Linked DNA regions of Homo sapiens: region 2 is linked to region 1. Evidence: promoter capture Hi-C in 16 types of primary human blood cells and fetal thymus (Javierre and others, 2016). All regions are on one chromosome and are shown on one strand. Each heading gives the region's core, a stretch centred on a gene start or on the middle of the fragment in contact. The rest is flanking DNA. Distances are from core to core; before and after follow the strand shown. Region 1 holds the start of KCNK5 (potassium two pore domain channel subfamily K member 5). Region 2 overlaps DNAH8 (dynein axonemal heavy chain 8).

The links. Contacts are between HindIII fragments. The CHiCAGO score rates a contact against its expected background, and 5 or more counts as called.
Region 2: a contact is called between a fragment that was not itself captured here and the fragment with the promoter of KCNK5 in region 1, in 1 of 17 cell types (activated CD4 T cells). The highest score is 5.1, in activated CD4 T cells.

Annotation. Positions count from the first base shown.
Region 1 is chr6:39,226,727-39,233,476 of GRCh38, reverse strand. KCNK5 (potassium two pore domain channel subfamily K member 5) reads left to right here and starts at 4,002. Exons shown (of 5, transcript NM_003740.4): 1 at 4,002-4,551. The coding sequence starts at 4,366. RefSeq lists an enhancer at 2,697-3,424 and silencers at 3,712-4,061, 4,162-4,241, 5,255-5,324. The HindIII fragment of the contact is 7,595 bases long and covers 1-5,995 here.
Region 2 is chr6:38,969,587-38,977,159 of GRCh38, reverse strand. It overlaps DNAH8 (dynein axonemal heavy chain 8), which reads right to left. Exons shown (of 93, transcript NM_001206927.2): 83 at 5,495-5,568; 84 at 3,347-3,499; 85 at 2,631-2,786. Among named protein-coding and RNA genes, the nearest start is that of DNAH8-AS1, 20 kb to the right of the region's middle. The HindIII fragment of the contact is 4,360 bases long and covers 1-3,980 here.

The DNA.
Region 1 (6,750 bases), core at 2,753-5,252:
GTTGTAAAGACAAGGTTCTTATTATGCAGGTGAAGCCTTCAGGTAGCAGGCTTCAGAGAGAATAGATTATAAATGTTCGTTATCCAACTTACAAAGGTGCCAGACGACCCCGGGAGCGCAGGGAGCGCTCCTGCAGGAGCATTTCAAAATAGGCCAAATGAATATATTTTGGGGTAAAATACTTCGATTTCTCTCAGGGCCTGCTGTCATGATTCTTATTGCTACAAAGAGTCTGTACTGTCAGTCTTAAGGTCTCTGTTTTTTGGGTTTTTGTTTTTTTTTTTTATTGAGATGGAGTCTCTATCATCCAGGCTGGAGTGCAATGGTGCCATCTCGGCTCACTGCAACCTCTGCCTCCCGGGTTCAAGCAATTCTAATGCCTCAGCCTGCTGAGTAGCTGCGATTACAGACATAAGCCACTACGCCCAGCTAATTTTTGTAGTTTTAGTAGAGACAGGGTTTCACCATGTTGGCCAGGTTGTGCCTTAAGGTCTCTGTTTTAATATTAATGCTGGTCAGCTGTGCCTGAATTCCAAAGGGAGGAAGTTATAAGGAGGCATGTCGGCTGGGCGCTTTGGATCACACCTGTAATCCCAGTGCTATGGGAGGCCAAGGTGGGCAGATCAGTTGATGTCAGGAGTTTGAGGCCAGCCTGGCCAGCATGGTGAAACCCCATCTCTATTAAATATACAAAAAATTAGCCGGGCGTGGTGGCTCATGCCTGTAGTCCCAGCTACTTGGGAGGCCGAGACATGAGAATTGCTTGAACCCAGGAGGCAGAGGTTGCAGTGGGTTGAGATTGTGCCACTGCACTCCAGCCTGGGTGACAGAGTGCGACGCCCTCTCAAAAAAAAAAAAAGGAGCCATGTCCAACCACCCATTCCATCATGGCCTGAACTAGTGTTTTGTGTTTACTTGAGAATGCCCTTGGTCAAGAGGAAGGGTCCATTTGCTTGCTTGGGAGGGGCCTAGAATTTTATTGTTGGTTTACATTCCTCAGAGCTGATTGCCTTCCAAAAGGTTGCACTCTGAAATTATTATCAACCCTGATCAATAATCATAATACTAAGAACTACACGTATGCTATTGGAATGGATTTATTTATCAGCCCTGTAGGAAAATATATATCTCACATCACCTCATTCCCATTTACCCACTTTTCCCTTTTCCAATCTTAAGGCTCGTGTTGTCTAAATATTCGATAGTTTCAGCACAGTTTACATTTTATAAAAGCCCCCACTGGCTGCTGTGCAGAGAGCAGGTGTGTGCCCCTGATCTACAGAAGGTCAAGTTGATCCAACTATCTGGCTGGGGCAGGGGAGTTGGAGAGGGGAGTGGGGAGATGGGGAGGGGAGGGGAAGTTGGGGGAGGGGAAGCACATTCAACTGGGATGGAGACAAAGGAGAGAGGCAGGAGGAGGGAGAATGAAGAGCTGGGGAAGGAGCTTTGGAAAAATACAGGAAAGCAAAGGATGCGGCGACAGAAGGAGAGGATGAGGAGTCAGTCAGCACCACATGGAGAGCAAGAAGGAAGAAGGGGACAGGAAATGCAGAAACAGAGTGGAAGGACAAAGAAACTACAACATACAGAGGCCTCGAATAAAAATCAATTCATCTCAAAGTGTTCAGCATTTTCATGAGGCTGTGAGACCGAAATAGGAAGAGGCCCTTTATTTTCTTAGGAAGAGAACACAGACCGGAGGTGGGAGAGGAATGGTAGGGAATTTTCCAAACAAAGAGAGGGCCTGTGGCCTCTCAAACTGCCCCCACCCCATGCTCACTGAAGCGTTCACACTGCAGCCCTGAACTCTTCACAAACAGGGTGAACTCCATCCAGAGAGGGGGGATCCGGAACCCATGCTTGGTTTCCATCCCAGCTGGAGGGCTGGAGAATGAGACTGCAGAGCTAGGGTTCAGGCCACAGCCTGGGGGACAGGGTAGGCAGGAGGTCAGCAAGGCTTAGAGAAGATGGATATGTTGGGTTGGGTGAGAGGCCTGGTGCTGGGAGTGGGTTGTCTACAGAGAAGCACCCCCAGGGCCTTGTCCAGGATGATCCTTGGCCAGGGGGGTCCTGAGGGGACTGGCACTGCACACCTCAGGGATGCAGTATCAGGAAATCTGGGGCTCCCCAGCTTCCTGCTCTGGTCTTCTTCTCTGGACACGCTCATGTTGCCATAAGGAGAGACAGAAACATCAGCAAAATCAGATCAATGCTTCCAACTGTATCCCTAACCCCTCCATTCCAGCCAGATTTGGAGATAGTACAGATACCCCCCTCCCCAAGTAAAGTGTCTCTTGACACCTTGGGGTTCAGGCCACAGCCTGGGTACAGGGTGGGTAGGAGGTGAGAAATGACTCCCCTTCTTCTCGATGGAAAGAAAAGGCCTTGGCCAGGGGACAGTGCTCAGGGACTCTGGCCACTCCAGTACCTGCCCCTACAGAGGCCAGAGAAGGGCAGGGCCAGCCCCTGGTACAGAGCACTGAAAGGAGGTTCCCCCTCCAACTTCTGACTGGTGCTGGTTGAAAGACTGAACAAACTAACCCACTGAGCTTTTTTCCTCACTGCAAAGTGGGTCGAATGACAGGGCCTGCTTATGATGCATGGAAGGGATTCAGTACTTCCTGGGGTTTACAAGAGCTCAGAGAATGGCAGCAAGGCGAGTTAGAAACATCCTGGGCACCTGTTTTTAACAAATTCATTCACTCCTTCATTGCACACATGGTTATTGAGTGTCTGCTATGTATGTAACAAGCACTGTGGATACATCATTACACAAGACAGATTCTCCATCTCCCCAGCAGACATTTCCGTGTGTGTGTGTGTGTGTGTGTGTGTGTGTGTGTGTCTGTGTGTGTGTGGCGGGGAGAGGGCACAATACAGAGTAAACAATAAATAAAGTTATATAATATAGCAGAGGGAATTTAGTACTAGGAAGGACATAAAGCCAACGAGGGAGATAAGGTGGCGGGGGTGGAATTTTAAATCAGCTGGAGCATATGTATGAAAGTGGGCCGGGCGCGGTGGCTCACGCCTGTAATCCCAGCACTTTGGGAGGCTGAGGCGGGCGGATCACCTGAGGTCAGGAATTGAGACCAGCCTGGCCAACACGGTGAAACCCCGTCTCTACTAAAAATACAAAAATTAGCTGGGCGTGATGGCGTGCGCCTGTAGTCCCAGCTTCTTGAGAGGCTGAGGCAGAAGAACTGCTTGAACTCGGGAGGCGGGGGTTGCAGTGAGCCGAGATAGTGCCACTGCACTCCAGCCTGGCGACAGAGTGAGACTCCGTCTGAAAGAAAAGAGGAAAGGAGAGGAAAGGAGAAGAGAAAAGAAAAGAGAAAAGAAAAAAAGAAAAGAGGCCAAGTGTTTCCCGTAGAGATACTGTGTATTGGGGGGGCGCACAGGGGTGCCACGAATTGAGCTGCCCACTCCTTCCAGATGCAGGGTTCTCACCCGGGTAGGTGAGAACGGGGTGAGGGGGAGGAATCACGCGTGGGTGGCTGGATTAGTTCCTGATGTCCTCTGATTCCCTACAGCTTCTTCAGCCCCGTTCTAACCCCCTTCCTCAGGCTTACAAGAAAGTGTGTGGAAGAGAGACACGGAGAGACTGAGCATTAGACTTTTTTGGAAGAAACATCAGTAAATGAAAATGGAATTACAATAAAAATAACAAAAGCAATAAACTCCTGACCTCAGTCACAATCATTTTAGTTAACACGCCAGTCCTAATAACAAACACGAGTCCCTGAGACCGCAACCCCTCGGGCACCGCAGGGCGTGCAGGTCTGGGCGGGCGGCGCAGCCTCCCCTGGCGGCTGACCCTGGGAGCGCGGGGAGCGCCAAGCCTCTTCTAGCGCTCACCTCGCGCTCACTCCTGCGCTCGCCGGGCTGCTTGTGCGGGGAAGGGGCGGGGCCCGCCTGGGCTCCTCCCCGGTCGGAGCCCGGAGCAAGGGGGCAGAGCGCGCCGGGCGCTGGTTAAAGAGGCGTGCGGAGGCGGGCGCGGCGCATACTGCTAGTGGCGCGCGGAGGAGCGACGCGTGGAGAAGCGGCCCACGTGTCTGCCCAGAGTCAAGTCCTGTGTTCTTCCCGCTCCTTACGCATCCGCGGTCCAGGGCGCCCTTTCAGCCCCGCTGGTGTTCGCCCACCCCGGGCCGCGTGAGTGGGGCCCCACGCAGCTCCCCGCACTCCGTGGGCCAACTTGGCCAAGCAACTCTGTCCGGGGAGCGGTGCTTGCGGGGGGTGAGTACCGGGCACTGCGCATGCGGAGCTCCAAATTCAAACAGCTGTTTTCAGAGGCTGGAGGGCGGGCGGACTGGTAGCAGCTGGGGCTAGGAGAGGCTTTCTCTAGGAGGCGGCCGCTCGGGAGCCATGGTGGACCGGGGCCCTCTGCTCACCTCGGCCATCATCTTCTACCTGGCCATCGGGGCGGCGATCTTCGAAGTGCTGGAGGAGCCACACTGGAAGGAGGCCAAGAAAAACTACTACACACAGAAGCTGCATCTGCTCAAGGAGTTCCCGTGCCTGGGTCAGGAGGGCCTGGACAAGATCCTAGAGGTCAGTCGCCGCCTGTACCCCCATATACATCTGAAGCTGGCTTGAGCTTTAGGGGGCGCTGAAAGGAAGACCCCTTCACAGCTTTGGGTGACCCTCAGTCCCTGTGGAAGGTCCAGGGGGTGATGAGAGAGCGTGTCTCATCATGGGTCAGGCTTCGAGGATCTGTCGCTCACCCGAGGGACACAGGGGTCCCCCAGGCGCGGAGACTCTTTGGAACTTAGTTTGGCCGGAGACAAATTGGAGTTGATTCCCGGGTGAACTAGGCTCCACGGTGTTTCAGTGTGGGTGTGACGGTACCTCCCTCCTTGGGAAGAGGCTGTGGGACGGATAAAGGCGTTTATCTTTCCCTGGAGACGCTCCCGGAGTCTGGGAGCCAAGCCTGGTGCCATCCCCTCGTGTCTCCACCTCCCCGCTCCAGGGCCAGTGCCACGCCTGCCAGGCTTTTCTTAAGGAACGTGAACCCGGCAGAGTGGCGGGAGGGTCCCTCAGCCCGAGCCTGGGCAAAATCTTCCGCCCCCAGCAGAGTTCCGGAGAGGAGCTGGAGGCTCTGTGGGGCCCGAACCCACGGGATGAGGGCTGGTGCCTGGAATGCTGGGGACGCGCTCAGGCTTCCGGGAAGGCTTATCTCGCGGAGACATCCTTCAAGGGCTTGGAGTAAAACTTTGTGAAAGTAGCAGGTTGCACAAACGAATAATACCCGCGTAGTCCCTTTATGATGGGGGAGGAGAGTGTGTGCGGAATTGGGGTGGGTGGGGGACTTCCCTCCGTGCTGACATTGGGAACCGCTTATTTTCTGGTGCACAGCCCGATGGGTGGCATTGACCTCACTTTGGATAAACGGGCTGCCTATCCTGGCTGAGACCTTGGGGCCCATTTGGGGACCGAGGCCCTCTACCCCAGTTTCTCGAGGGCTCAGCTTCAACCATCAACTCTTCTTGGCCTGCTCCCCCAGTGGAATGACCAGGACCTGGGTGAAAGTTCTAGATTGCAGCAGGTAGGGAGTAGGGGTAGATTGTCCAGGGTGTTACCTTGCTCTCAGGGTGAAAGATGCCAGAAAGGAGGTCTGATGAGAAGCAACGTTTAGTCTACAGCAGCACCTCAATACTTTATGCCTATCTAGTCGTCGCTCATTTTCCAGCCTCCGTTTCCCCATGTGAGAAACGGGAATGAGCCCATCCTCATTCCTTATTTCTGCCACGGACTGTTAGGTTGGAAGCATTTGGAAAACATCAAAATCTTGTCCCCAGATTGATGGACATCACACAGATAAGCATATACGTATTTGCTGGCAGCCGTGTGTGGGGAGACTTGTCCTCCAAGGGGTCCTGTAGAAGGGGAGGTTTAGTCTAGCAGGCTTAGTGTTGGATTTTAGTGGAGAGTCTCTTGCCCTGTAGCAGTTTCCCGGGTAGAGGCAGATGGGAGGTGATGGTGGGGAGGATAAGCTTCAGTAGATGGTTGGTTGGTTTACCTCCTAACAGCAAGAGTCCTGGCATGAAGAGTCTACATGGCTTCCTTCTGATGGGCGTCTACCCTGGGGGGTGTGTTGTGGGGAGGGGGTTGCTTTATGATTTCCCTTGAGGAAACAATTCCTCTAGAGAACAAGTTTTTGTTTAGTTTGTTCCAGGGCTTTGTTTAGAGGGGGAAGAGGGCAGGCAAGGATGATAAAGCCTTGAGCTGCCCTCGAAGTGTTTCCCTCTAAGCTGTTGCTCCAACACTGCAGGGGAAGGAAGGAAAGAATTCAAGGCTAAATGTGGGAAAATAAACTTCAAAACACAAGGCAAAGGGAAAGGCTGGCGGGGCATACGGCGGGGGGGGCGGGGTCCAGGGGTTAGGCAGCCGGGTGCAGCTGGTGGTCATAGCTTTGGAGGCTAGACGGCTTCTTAAGGTATTTGAACAAACAAAATGCCTCTTATTTAGCAGTCCTGTTAAATCTGTCAACATTTACCCCCCTACCAAAAAAAAGTAATGGGCAGGTAATTTTTAGAAAAAGGACTTGGGCATCAAGCCAGTCTGCTTTGGAGGCTATTATAGATAAGTTCTTGAACAAGGACAGCCCTGTCCTCATCCCCGGCCAAAGAAACTCCCAAACCAACCCCAACTGGGCGAGTCCCTTCCCGTCATAGGAAAAACCCCAAGAAATGAAAATGGACAAGTAGAAGCATTTGCTGACATCAGTTTTAATCTGCAGAAATCTGCCTT
Region 2 (7,573 bases), core at 551-3,050, 250 kb after region 1:
TCTGCCCAAGTTATCCTTGACCAGCCAAATTTACTTCCCCTTCTCCCAGAAAAGGAGAGGTGCTCATTTTGTTCCCTGCAACTGAAGTAGAATCCACATATCATGCCTATGAACTGGGGTAAGCTGATGGCATAATGCCACCCAAACCAGGATTCCAAGGGAGAATTTACATTTTTTACTGGAGAGCAGGCAGGGAGTTGGCTATTTTACTCCTGGGTTCTGCATTGTAATGTGGGATGAACTCCAGCATGAACCCCTCTGGAGCTTCAGATCCTGTGCCTAATTCTTTTTTCAGTCTGTCTCTGCAAGAACAAAAGTACATATAACATGTTTGTTTAAAGCAACGGATACCTGTTTTAATTTGGAGGACTCAATTAATCAATTAACAAATCAGATGTTTGGCTCTTATACTCAACACTAGAGAGAGAAAAGAAACGTAAGTCACAAACAATCTAATCCACAACATTCCTTCCTATAGCAGTTGAGTCTCAGACATTCAGGTGCATACAAATCATGTAGGTATCTTGGTACAATGCAGACTGATTTAGGAGAGTCTGAGGCGAGATCTGACATGCACCTCCAACAAGCTCCCAAGTGATGTTGATGCTTCTGGCCCAAGACAACAAGTCTCTGAAGAATTTTGGATTTTTCTATCAAGCTGTCCCTATCCTAACCAAGTAAAAAAAATATTTACACAAAATCACAGCAAACACTTCTGTGATATTTCTGAAACATATGTCTAAAATTCCCAGGAGATTTTGGAAATATCACAGTAAACACTTCTGAAATTGATGAAAAAGAATTACCTACACTCACTGTATTGTCACAGAATTGGGCGATGGAATTTTAGAAATTGAAAAAAACCTTGAAAGATCACCTACTTCTGCCTCTAACTGCACAGATGGGGAAACAGAAGCCCTGAGAGAGACATAACTTGATCAACTAACTGCTTTCAGCTAACTGATTTCACAGCAAGCACGAAAGTCCAGGCCTCCTGACTCTTAGTGAAGTGTTATTTCTAGCCCTCTATTATTTGATTTTAAGAGATATTCAGCCTTTTATTCCTGGACACTCCACTGGTAACTTCACCGCCCTAGCAGTGAAAATATTTTTCCTCCGTTTTAACCCAAACACATGTGGTGTTAAGTGCAAGGGCACTTTAGCCCCATGGCTGGACCATGGTCCTGTTGCTCTTCTTCCCTTTAGCACTTGGATAATGGCCACTAAAAACACAGGTTGCCACATTAACCATATGGCAAATACCCCCAACCAGCTCTCCATGATAAGCACAGTGGAAGAGTTGAATCATCACTACTGGGAACACAATCATAAAATATTATTTGTGAATTGGGAATGAAATAGCAGAGTTAAAGCAATATTTGTATTAGGATGTGATAAGGTCTAGCAAAGCGAACAATTCCCAGATAAGAATGTATGAAATAGGCTTCTGTGACTTGAAAGCTGTAATTGACAATCCAAAGGCCACAATGGAACTTAGTAAAGATAACCACCAGCAAAGCATTTAATCTGATTTTAACTTTCTCAGTGTTGGGAGGCAGACAAACACCACATCCCTCTCCTGGGCAGCCAGGAACCTAGTAAAGTGGTAGGGATAATGAATTAGGGGTAAATACACACAGTATTTTCTGGGATGAGCATTAAGTTCCCCTCCATCTTTGGACAGGGCAGGGAGAGGTAATGTGAAGTTCTGCCCATCACTGTACACAGCTAAAAGCCTGACTCCTGGGATAGACCAACTGATTTATTTTGTCCTTCACCCCAACCCCAGGAAAGAAAGAACTCCAGGTAGGGCTTAAAGGAATCTCTTCAATTCTCTGTGAAATCAAGGAATGGATCCAGTGCATTGAAAATGTATAGCTTTTGAATTACAGAACAAAATATAAAATTCAGATGCAGAACAAAACACTAACAATAATTTAAAAAATCGTAACAGACAAGTTGCTTGGTAATCATAAAATTATTAAATTACTGCGTCAGTACTAAGACTGTAAAAGCAAACAGCAAATGACTTGAGAAAGACAGGGAGCTGCTGTTCCTCCTCCTCCTCCAACATCACCACCACTTTTACTATCAGGTAATAAATAGAGTCAAAACAATACATAAATCAGAGCCAGCCAATCCTAGTTCAGCCAATCCTAGCAACCACATTTGAAGAGTACTTAACATCTTTGGGATGGTGATAATCCTATCTTGAAATGTGGTTGTTAGTATTACAGGAGATGGTGCACATAAAATTCTTGGCCAGCACAGGCACTTTCAAAACCAAGCTCCTATCTTTATAATCCATTAGCTCATTCTACAAATATTTATTGAGCTCTGACAATCCCCTGCGTGCTGTTGTGACAGTAGGAGAGTCAGCAGTTACGAAAAGACAGTCTTCACCCTGGAGAATCTTACATTCCAATAGTCAGGGTTGGGGGTTGGGGCAGGGGGCACACACAAAATACATAAACAAATATACACTATACCAGGTGGGGAAAGTGCTATGAAGGAAAAGAGAGTAAGGAGACAGAGCGGCAACGGATAGCACCCTCCTGGAAGCCTCTCCAATGGGGCCTCAGCACACCACTGGCCATCTCCTAAATGTGAAAACTGCTTTCTGCAGTTACCTGCACAGTGGAGTGTAAAAATGCTACTGTGTAAAGCATCGGCTTCCACATGGGTAAATTACTGATGTCCAGAAGGTCTTGATTAATTCCAGCAAATGTTCTTTTCAAACCTGCGCGTACACCTTGGGGTGGCTCATTAGTGAATTTGAGAGAGGTCTGTCATGAAAAGAAAACAGTGCTTTTGTTTCTATAAATTACTATAAAGAATAAAATAGAAATTACAATATTAGGCTGAATATCCTTTATCTGAAATGCTTGGGACTGGAAGTGTTTTGAATTTCAGATTTTGGAATATTAGCATTAAATTGTTATATGAGCATTGCCTTTGAGCATTCTATTGGCATTGAGAATGTTTCAGATTTTGGAGCATTTCGGGTTTCGATTTTCAGATTTAGGATGCTCAACCTGTATATCAGAAAACAATATGCTTATGGTACATAAAGTGGGGGCAAAGTTCAGCATTGTATAAACTAAGTACATTGATCAGAGCTGAAACTCAATAAATTAGTACTAAGTCTTAGAGCTCTTCTATGGAAATATTTACTACAGTCTAACCTTGATGTCAAGATTTTGATGATTATAGTATTATAGTATAAGATCTTGCAGTCCAGACCCTACAGGACCAAAAAGCCCTGTTGTGTTCCCATCTTTCAACAATGTCAATGATGTCATCTTTATTACTATGACTCTCGATGAAAAGACGTTTAGTAACAAACCTGAAGCAATGTAATTGGAAATCGATCATGGGGCTCCGTAGTTATCCATACTCGGAAAGAATCATCACTGGCTTCAGTGGTAATTAGCGTCTCTAGTAATTCTTCCATGAATTCCAGGCCAAGGTGGCAATTTTGTAGTAATACCCAACCACCCTGTATCCAAAAATAAGTTCATATTTATTTCTTGTAACCTTTTTGCTATGATTTTAATAAAACAAAATGTGCACTTTTTTTAAAAACCATGTGAATACTCTGTTTTGAACACATTTTTAAAAATTATATGTCAATACAATCATTTCTCCTGCTATGGTACAAGTAATTGGTACAAGCTAATTACTTAGAATCAAGTGGGTTCAAAATGATTGTATTCTGCCACCCCTGGTTCAGAAAGGAACAGAAATTAAAACTTGAAGGCAGACTTGTGTAAGTACAGTGTGTGCACCATCTAATGGTGGGAACGGGTATTTTGGAATCAGTAACAAGTTGTCCTGCCTAAGGTAAATCAGAACTGACTCACCCCCAAAACCCAGAAGACTGGTTCACAGTTATTCATAGTTACAAAGAAAGATACACATGATCTCATGAAAGCTGGAGACAATACGTTTGGTGACATTTACTACCATAATGCTAAGCTTTATTCTTTATCATCACTCTCCACACTTTCCTGAAACCACATAACTTATTAAGCACTTTCTAAATAAATACTTGATTAAACAAACTACCTTAAACAATATGTCACAAAACCATCACTGCCCTGTGAGAACATAGTTTCTTTACTAGACATTTTAATACCTTTATACAGGAATCAGCTATCTTGAACTACATAAAACTACAAAATAGTGAGCATGATAAATATATGGCAAGGCATATATACCATGTCTCAACTGTAAGCGAAAATACAACTCACACCGGCTTAACTAGTAAAGGGGATGTGCCGTCTATACAACTGGGGTTTCAGAGGAAAACAGCATTCAGGATTAGTTTGTGTCATCATGGACCCACTTACTTTCTGGTTCCCCACTCTGTGTTCCACAATGCCAGCTTTATGCTAAACATGGTGTCCCTCAAGGCGGCAACATGGCTGCACCTGCTCATGTCTGGTTTTCTTTTCTGATTATGCCATATAATCAATACTTACCCCACTTTGACAAACAGACCATGGAAGTTATAAAGGCTAGTATTCCAAAGACAGTTAACATGAACACCGTATTTAAATTAAAGTTTTGCACCCACAGAAACTAAAGAAATTATTTAAGGCCCAAAGTTAAACTGTCAAATCACTCAATAGAGTGAAACATTTGATCCGAGTAAAAATAATTATGTATAATTGCTTTGAGATATACATGTATAAATTAAATAAATTATTGAATTTAATTAAGTGATAAAGATTGAGGCTTAGGGCATTTGAGAATTAATGACTAGCTGGAAAAGTTGATGACCCAACAGAGTTTTAGCCCATTAACCCTCTCTAGTCATTAATTCCCAGGGAAAAGCTGCACCAAAGTTTGTACAGACATTCTGAGATCAAAAGCTTAAAAATAAACCAATATCTTATTTTATTTTTATAAATGGTATAATTTCTTATTACAGCTGAAATGGCTATCTACAGAGCATTTCTAGAAAATTAATGTCCTGTGTATTTATTAGGTGTGATGGGAAATCTCTCTCAACACTCCATTCAGCTTGCAATTATTAGTGAAAACCATTATCAGTATTTAAACATAGCATCCTTAAATATTCCTTCTTTGCCTGAAATGATCCGTTAATGAAAAATGAAAGTCTGCCTTTAACTGAAAATGGAAATTTAACTGTCTCAATCTGTCACTCCTTAAGTACTACCTATTCATATTGATCATGAAATTCCAAGACTGCTAGAGATGCATTCTTAGAAATCAGAAGGTGTGTCTCCCAAATCATAAAACGAACAAAAAATTGGTGAAGGTAAAATGGAGCATATACTATAGAAAATGGAATAAGCTTTCCATGCGAATATCAGGAGGAAACTAGACTGAGGTTTAAAATTCACAGGTAATGATAAACAAAAATGGAAAAACCAGGATTGAGCATCACGAGAAGAATGTGGTAACATCCATGATTGTGGGGTTTCTAGCAATAATGTTGCAGCAGGAGCAGTCTCTTGTCACATACCTGCTGCATTGACATCTGAATCAGCTTTCGAGCATGTACTTCTTGTCCTTGCCCCATTGAGATAGTTCTACATTCTGTAACATAGGAGAAAGTTCACTATGATGAAACACAACTCTTACAGCAGGATTAGAATGAAAAATTAATTTCTGAATGATTATAGCCTCCTTCTATTGTTTCTAAAAAAAAAAAAAAATCTTTGCTGTTCAAACAGGCCTGGCCTTTGGTTGTGTGGATCAGAGAAATGCATGGAGCAGAGACCTGGAGGCACCACCCGGAAAAGCGTGGGTTGGGGGTCAGGAAGGGAGAGAAAAAGGCACGTATGGTGGGCTTTTAGAGAGTTTGAGATTCTTTGGAGACAATGAGGAACAAGATCAATGGTGGGAGAGGCAACTACAATGCTATCACAGGTATTTGTAGGGAAAAAGGATTTTTTAGTTTTGCTGTAAGTTTTGGTTAGAATCCTTTTCGGCGTTTTAGCAGACGCTTCTGTAAAGATTTAATTTTCTGTTTATTCCTTTTAGATATCAGGCTCACAGTGTTTTCTGTCTGCTTGTTTTGGTTTTCTTTGTATGTTTGATCATTTTTCTGAGATGAAATTTGAGACAGTTCAGCCCTGTGACGGGTACATTCAGGGGCAACTGTCTAAGACCTAGTTCTCAGCTGCTCCTCAGATTAAATCACCACCTTGGAACTAAACATGAAAACACTCCACGATGAGAAATGTCATAATTCCAGAGATAATACACCATTTAGGACCAGATGTCCCAGGCAGAGAACCATGCTTGTGACCTCCCACATGAATTAGCTAAAATGAAGAAGTCTGAGAATCATGTTTGCACAACTGCAATTGGAAATTAACTCTTAAGCAAGCCCTTGTGGACCCAAATTTTCTTGAGTTCTAGAGGCATAATCCCTGTACAAGGAAAAGCAATCAATGGAGACATTGTGAACCAGTGTGTGTTTATGGTAACTGCTGGTAGAGACTATAAGAAGCTGGAGACTTCATGGGGTGGGGAGGGAAGTATGTCAGAAACCAGAGACACTGTCAGGACACACCATTTAAATGGCATCCTGTGGTTAATGGCCAGATATTCTGAGAGGGTCTGCAGGGTGCAAGATTAGGGATTATTCGTGGGCTCAGGGTCACAGGGAGACACTTTGCAATGAGAGCCTGAAGGAGGATGGAAGAGCACTCACTGCTTGGAGAATCAGGAATTGAAATGGGCCAAGTATTAACAAGCAAAGGTGGATTTTCCCACCAAAGCCCACATGAATCTTTCCAGCTCCTAAGGGGAATCTGGCACCTGAAAAGAATCCCACCCAGCCTATAAAAGCAGAAGAAAGGAGAGGCGTGACTTGAATGGGAGGAGCCTCTGGATCGTGGATAGATATCGAGCCCCACTTATTTCGGAAGAACACACAAATGTTCAATAGATCAATGAGGGAAAGTGATAGGCTCAAAAAGTATTAACACATGAGTGTGAGCCACAGCCTCTCTGTCTTCTTCCAACTCCTCTGAAACACACCTTCTACAAGGAAGGTCTAGTTTTCGTTCAGGTGGCCCTGGGACAGTTGTTGCTTGATCCAGGTATTGGGTCAAGAGGCGATTTAGAGGCATCCCTTCATATCCAGAATCTGGCCATTTCCCAACTCTGCTTTTATTTCCTGGTGTAAGTGACCGCCACCTCTTGCCTAGATTCTTGGAATGGCCTCCTAACTGGTGACAACCTCACTTCCACCCTTGTCCTCTACTAGCTATTCTTCCTACAGCAGCCAGAGGGGTCTCTCAAGCCCTAAATCAGATTATGTTCATCCTCTGCTCAGAACCATCCAATGGCTTCCCATTGCATCCAAGGCAAAATCCAAAATCCAAACCAAAGTTCTTATTTACAGACTATAAGGCCCTACACAATCAGTCCCTGCTACTGCTGCCACACACCACCCCCCACTCCCCCCCACACACACCTTTTCTTATCTCACCACCCCCCTATCCATTCACTTTCCTCCATCCATAACAGCCTCCTCCCCAGGCCCACCCCAGCCTCATTGGTGTTCCCTCCTTCAGAGTTCCAGACTCAC